Regions from separate parts of the Homo sapiens genome. Here region 1 is linked to region 2. The links are contacts of gene promoters, found by promoter capture Hi-C in blood cells and fetal thymus (Javierre and others, 2016). All regions are on one chromosome and are shown on one strand. Each heading gives the region's core, a stretch centred on a gene start or on the middle of the fragment in contact. The rest is flanking DNA. Distances are from core to core; before and after follow the strand shown.

What was found. Contacts are between HindIII fragments. The CHiCAGO score rates a contact against its expected background, and 5 or more counts as called.
Region 1: a fragment that was not itself captured here is called in contact with the fragment with the promoter of FICD in region 2 in 1 of 17 cell types (neutrophils); the score reaches 5.4 in neutrophils.

Annotation. Positions count from the first base shown.
Region 1 is chr12:109,037,647-109,040,808 of GRCh38, reverse strand. It overlaps a transcript of USP30 not described here. Among named protein-coding and RNA genes, the nearest start is that of USP30, 13 kb to the left of the region's middle. The HindIII fragment of the contact is 1,784 bases long and covers 540-2,323 here.
Region 2 is chr12:108,513,604-108,516,661 of GRCh38, reverse strand. It overlaps FICD (FIC domain protein adenylyltransferase), which reads right to left and starts at 1,385. Exons shown (of 3, transcript NM_007076.3): 1 at 1,301-1,385. RefSeq lists an enhancer at 1,854-1,913. The HindIII fragment of the contact is 9,938 bases long and covers 1-3,058 here.

The DNA of each region.
Region 1 (3,162 bases), core at 182-2,681, 520 kb before region 2:
TGCTTCCACTTTGCTTTTTCTTGAAACACTTGCTCTGGGAAAAGCCAGTCACCATGTTGTGAAGATGCCCAGGCAGCATTATGGAGAGGTCCATGTGGCAAGGAACTGAGGCCTTCTGCCAACAGCCATTACCAACTTGCCAATCACGTGAGTGCACCATCTTGAAAGTGGATCCTCCAGCCCCAGTCAAGTCTTCAGATGAGACCACAGCCATAGCCAACATCTGGCTACAACCTCATAAAAGGCCCTGAGCAATAGCCAGCCAACTCAGCTGCTCTTGGTGGATTCCTGACTCACAGAAACTGTGTGGGATAACAATTGTTAATTTTTTTAAAGATGCTAAGTTTTGGGGGTAATTTCTTATGCAGCAGTAGAGAACTACTATAGCAGGAGCAATGTTCCTCAAAATGTGGACTTTATACCAACTACCTCAAAATCTCTTGAGCTGCTTGTTAAAAGTGTGGGTTCCAGGCCCCAACACAGTCAAGTGGATCAGAACATAGCAGTGTGATGCCTAAGAATCTGCATTTTGACAAGCTTCCCTAATAGTTTCTCTAATCACTTCCTTAATAGTTAAACTCTAAAGTTTCCCCAAACTTCAGGTATTTTGGTAGCACCCTAAATTTTTTTTTTGTTTGCCATATGTAGACTTTACCTTCACTATTTTATTCATCAACCTGTGGCACATAAATATTTTAAATGTTCTTTATAAAAACTGTTTTCACATGTAGAAAAAAAACAATATTTTTCTAATATATGTGAAAATAAGTATCTACATATGATAATTAAAATGTGATAAATATTTATATCATATATCACCCCAAGTCATCTTGATTACATTCAGAGGTAAACATTCCATCCTTAGTGAAACACTGAGATAGAGAAAGAAAGAAAATGGCTGGCCAGGTGTGGTGGTTCACGCCTGTAATCCCAGCACTTTGGGAGGCCAAGGCAGGCAGATCATGAGGTCAAGAGATCGAGATCATCCTGGCCAACATGGTGAAACCACATCTCTACCAAAAATGCAAAAATTCACTGGGTGTGGTGGCGGGCACCTGTAGTCCCAGCTATTTGGGAGGCTGAGGCAGAAGAATTGCTTGAACCTGGGAGGTGGAGGTTGCAGTGAGCTGAGATCGTGCCACTGAACTACAGCCTGGTGACAGGGTGAGATTCCATCTCAAAAAAAAAAATGGATTCTTATCACTTAGTAATAAGAATAGTTACAGCACCCCACATTTTTTCTCGGGAACTAGATCAGTTCTAAATGCTGGCTTCTGTATCATCTCCTTATATTCTCACTACATTCATGGGCAGCAGATAGGGTAAGATATAATTAGTGCCATTTTACAGATGAGAGCATTGTAGGAACTTTATCTAAGGTCAAATGACTAGAACACAAGCCCTATCTCCTGTCTTCCCACCCAAACCTTTTTGGAAGATATGACATTCCTCTATGGCCAAAATAAACCATAGAGAACTATAGGATAAGACACATAAAAATATAGAAGGTACACTATTGTAAAAGAATGTAACAAGACATGCAAATTAACTTGAAATGAATTATAGATCTACAATTGAAAGTTAAAACTGTAAAACTTTCTGAGGAAAACGGAGAAAAATCTTTGCAACCTTGGGGTAGACAAAGATTTCATAGATAGATCACAAAAAGCACAAACTAGAAAAGAAAAAACTGATACATTGGATCTAATCAAAATTTTAAAATTTTTCTTTTCAAAAAACACTGTTAAGAAAACAAAAAGATAAGCCACAAAATGTTTATAATACATATATCTAACAAAGACTTGTATCCGGAATATGTAAAGAACTCTTGCAATTCAATAAGAAGAAAAACAATTCCCTCTGAACTGGCAAAATATCTGGACAGATACTTCACAATACAGTATATGAGAATGATCAGTAGGCACATGAAAAGATGGTCAACATCACTAGTCATCAGGGATACAAAAATTAACACCATTATATAATACCACCACACACCCATTAGAATGGCTAAAATTAAAGAAATTAATATCACTTGTTGGTGAGGATTTGGAGCAACTGGATATCATACGTTGCTAGCAGGAATGTAAAATAATATACTTTGGAAAACTATTTGGCAGATTCATATAAAGAGAAACATAAACTTACCATAATGATCCAACCATTCCTCTTCTAGGTATTTATTTATCCAAGAGAAAGGGAAATATAAGCCCACACAGACTGTTTGTTGAAACATTGCAGGTAAGTATTTTAATAAATAGCATTCATTGCTGAAGAAATGAATAACAATTGCAGCAAAAAAAAGATAGACTAGCAAAAAGCTTAAAAGGGAAAAAAAGCTTAAAAGGAAAATGTGTGCTATTTACAATAGCAATGACATGGATTCAACCCAAATGCTCATCAATGATAGACTGGATACAGACAATGTGGTACATATACACCATGGAATACTATGCAACCATAAAAATGAATGAGATTATGTCCTTGACAGAGACATGGATGGAGCTGATCCAGGAACAGAAATCAAACACCACATATTTACATGCTTACAATTGGGAGCTGCATGGTGAGAACACATGGAAACTGGCAGGTGGGGAGGGGGGCGGGAACCAACATACACTGGGGCCTTTGGAGGGGTCGGGGGAGGGAGAGCATCAGAAATAACAGCTCATGAATGTTGGGCTAAATACCTAGGTGATAGGTTGATCTGTGCAGCAAACCACCATGGCACACTTACCTATGTAACAAACCTGCATATCCTGCACATGTACCTGGGAACTTAAAATAAAAGTGGAAGAAAAAAAAAGAAAATCTGAGGAATCAGATATTCAGGGGCTTTGAAAAATTCAGATGTAATTCTGAGTATCTAGAAGGACATACACATGTGCAGCACTCTCTACATGCTCAGGGTAAACCTGAGAAGGCCCTAAGTTCTCACATCTGGCTGACCTTGATGTTTGACACAAGCAGGAAGTGAAGCCTAAGGCAGAGTTTTCAGCTGACAGGCTGAGTGTTGAAGGTGTACCCCAACACACACGGCACTCCTTGGCAAAGACTGGAAGATTTACTGGTTCCAGGCAGTTCCAGGCATTTAAGGAAATCTCTATCCAATTATTAGCTGACCACTAAGCTATCTGAGTTTTCAGTGGCCACACCTGTAGG
Region 2 (3,058 bases), core at 136-2,635:
GCTAAGCACCAAATGCCTCACATGGGTCACCTCCTGCAATCTTCAACGACTTGAGCTGATGTTTTCACCCTTCTCCAGGTGAGGGAACTGAGGTTCAGAGAGGTGAAGTCCCTTGCCGAAAGTCTCGCCGGGAGCAAGTGACAGCCTTAGGACTTGAACTCAGGAACCCCACGGCTCTAAAGTGTCCCCCCTTCCCATATATCCCTGTGGCTTCTGACCACAAACACTGGATTTGTGGACATATGTCAAACATTTGGGACATAAATGACTGACAGACACCCAGGCAGATCAGCCACAGCAGTTCTGACGCCCAATCTTTGATAAGCACAATTGTTGGGTGGCCTCATTTATTGCCCTCACCCTGATATTCAGCCACAGCTCCCACAGTGCCCTTCCCCTCTCTGGCCTTCCATTTCTGGCCTGTCCAGAAGGGACCCCATCAAGAAGATGAGCAGTTCGAGCATCTCGAAAGGAACTCAGGCTGTGGGCCACAGTGCTTGGCCTCAGTGACAACATGGCTTGTATGTGCTTGGGGCTGGCAGTGGGAGTGGAGGTGGGGCCAGGCATGCAAACACTATGCTAACAATAAGCACTTATTAAGCAACTATGGTGTCCTAGGTGCTGAGCAGTGTACTGGCCACGCATTGCCTCGTTTCACCCTCATGCCACCCTATGAAGGAAGAGCTACCGCTAGCTCCATTTTACAGACAAGGGAAACCAAGACACAGAGAGCATAAGTTAAATTCCAGAAGGCCCACAGGAGGTAAACAGAGGCATCCGGAAGGAAACCCCAGGGCCTCTGAACCCGGTCCCCAGGTCTCGATTTCTACCTTATTACTAAGCAGGGCCTGTGCACCTGCTCTGGGCTGGTCCTGACCCGGGAATGACTGATGGATCACGGGGTTCTGAGTCTCATGGGGATCCTGGCCCATTGCCACAGAACATGTGAAATGGCTTGGGGTGCGCTTTAATAGGGGTGCGCCTGGAGTGCTGCGCGGGTCCAGGGGTCTGGGCGGGCTTCCCGAGGGGACAGGCTCCTGGGCGGGGCGGTACAGGAAAGGGGGCAGTTCGCCGGTGCCAGGGGTGTGTGCAGGGAAGGAGTGCGTTCTGGGAGGCGCGAATCTCTCCCCCACACTTCCCTAGAAAGGGAGAACTGAGGCCCGGAGAGGGGAGGGGACCGGTCTGAGTCCCCTCCAAGACTGCAGAGCCTCCCTTCCCGAACCCCGCCCAGGGCTCGCGGCCCCGTCGCACCCTTCCCGGCTTCATCCTCTCGAGCCCCTAGGGCTTTTCCCCTTCTCACCGCGCGCAGCTGTCAGAACCCCAACCGCCTTCCCCGCGCTCCCAGCTCCGGGCCGCCGGCTCCCGGGTCCTCCTTCTCCGCCGGCCTCTGGCCCCGCCCCCGGCGACTTGCCATTGAACCGCCCGCAGCCCTCGTCGCGGCGGATTGGCTTTCCCCACTTGTCCTTCCCTCGCATTTCCGGGTTCCCGCGTCCGCGTCGGCTTCCCCGGGAAAGACGCGCCGTGGGCCACTCCCATTGGTTGTTGCTTGCGTTTGTCTCGTTCACGTAGCAGCCAATAAGCAGCGGGAGGGGCGGGGCCTAGGCCACAGGCAGGAGGAGCAGGTGCTGGAAACCCGATGGGCGTGCGGATTTGGGGCACACTAGGTGGCGGGCCCGGAAACTGGAAGTTCCACGGCGGTCTTTTCCTCGGGTCTCTTCGTCCCGGAGCCGCTGTCGTGTGCCTCATTTTTCCCGGTTGTGAAATGAAGATGCTGATGCTTTTCACCCCTTCACCCGGTTAGCCTGCTTGACTGCGCAGCCCCTGTTCTTAGCCTCCACCCCATGCTGCTGAGTTTGCCGCCTTCTTCTTCTTTACTCTTTTCCTCTCTGTGTCTTTTCCTCCCTGACTTAAACAACTTTTTTTTTTCTTATAAAATACAGGGTCTCGTTGTGTCGCCCAGGCTGGAGTGCGGTGGAGCAATTGCAGCTCACTGCAGCCTCCACCTCCTGGGCTCAAGCAATCCTCCCATCTCAGCCTCCCGAGTAGCTGGGACTACAGGTGCATGCCACCATGCCCGGCGAATTTTCTTTTCTTTTCTTTTCTTTCTTTCTTTCTTTTTTTTTCTCTCTCTCTGTCTTGCTTTCTTTCTTTTTTTTTGAGACGGAATCGCACTCTGTTGCCCAGGCTGGAGGGAAGTGGCACGATCTTGGCCCACTGCAACCTCCGCCTCCCAGGTTGAAGCGATTCTCCTGCCTCAGCCTCCCGAGTAGCTGGGATTACAGGCGCGCATCACCACGCCCGCCTAATTTGTGTATTTTTAGTAGAGATGGGGTTTCACCACGTTGGCCAGGCTGGTCTCGAACTCCTGACCTCAGAAGATTCGCCTGCCTCGGCCTCCCAAAGTGCTGGGATTACAGGCGTGAGCCATCGCGCCCGACCTATTTCTGATTTTTTATTTTCTTTAGAGACCGGGTCTCACTATGTCGCCCGGGCTGGTCTCGAACTCTTGACCTTAAGCTCTCCCTCCATCTCGGCTTCCCAAAGCGCTAAGATTACAGGCGCAAGCCACCCCCTCGGTTCTCCCTGACTTTTTAATTTGTATCCTCTCCAGAAGGACCTGGCTAGTTCTTTTGGCTTCCCAGAGAGAAATTTTTTCCTTGAAGCAGAGAATGGAAACCTCCATCTTAATCCACAAATACTGAAATTAAACATCTAGGGAGGTGCCCCAGAAACGCTAAGCATTTAGAAGTTAGCAGTTCAGATTCTGGGGAGTCAAAGAGACCTGAGCTCAAATTCAGACTTTGCCATTTACTCTCCGTGTCACCTTGGGCACGTTACTCCTAGCCTCACTTTCCCCACTTGTAAAATGGGGACAAACAGCCTACCTTGCTTTTGGCATCCAGTTCAGGATTTGCAGAAGGCTTGATGCTTCAAGATCTGACCTCCTCTGTGACGTGTATTGCTCTTGGAGGCAGGGCTAGGTGGTGGTTGTGGGGTGTCACTGTTGGGAGTCACACAGACCTGGGTTCAAATCCCAGTTCTGCCCCTTGCAAACTGA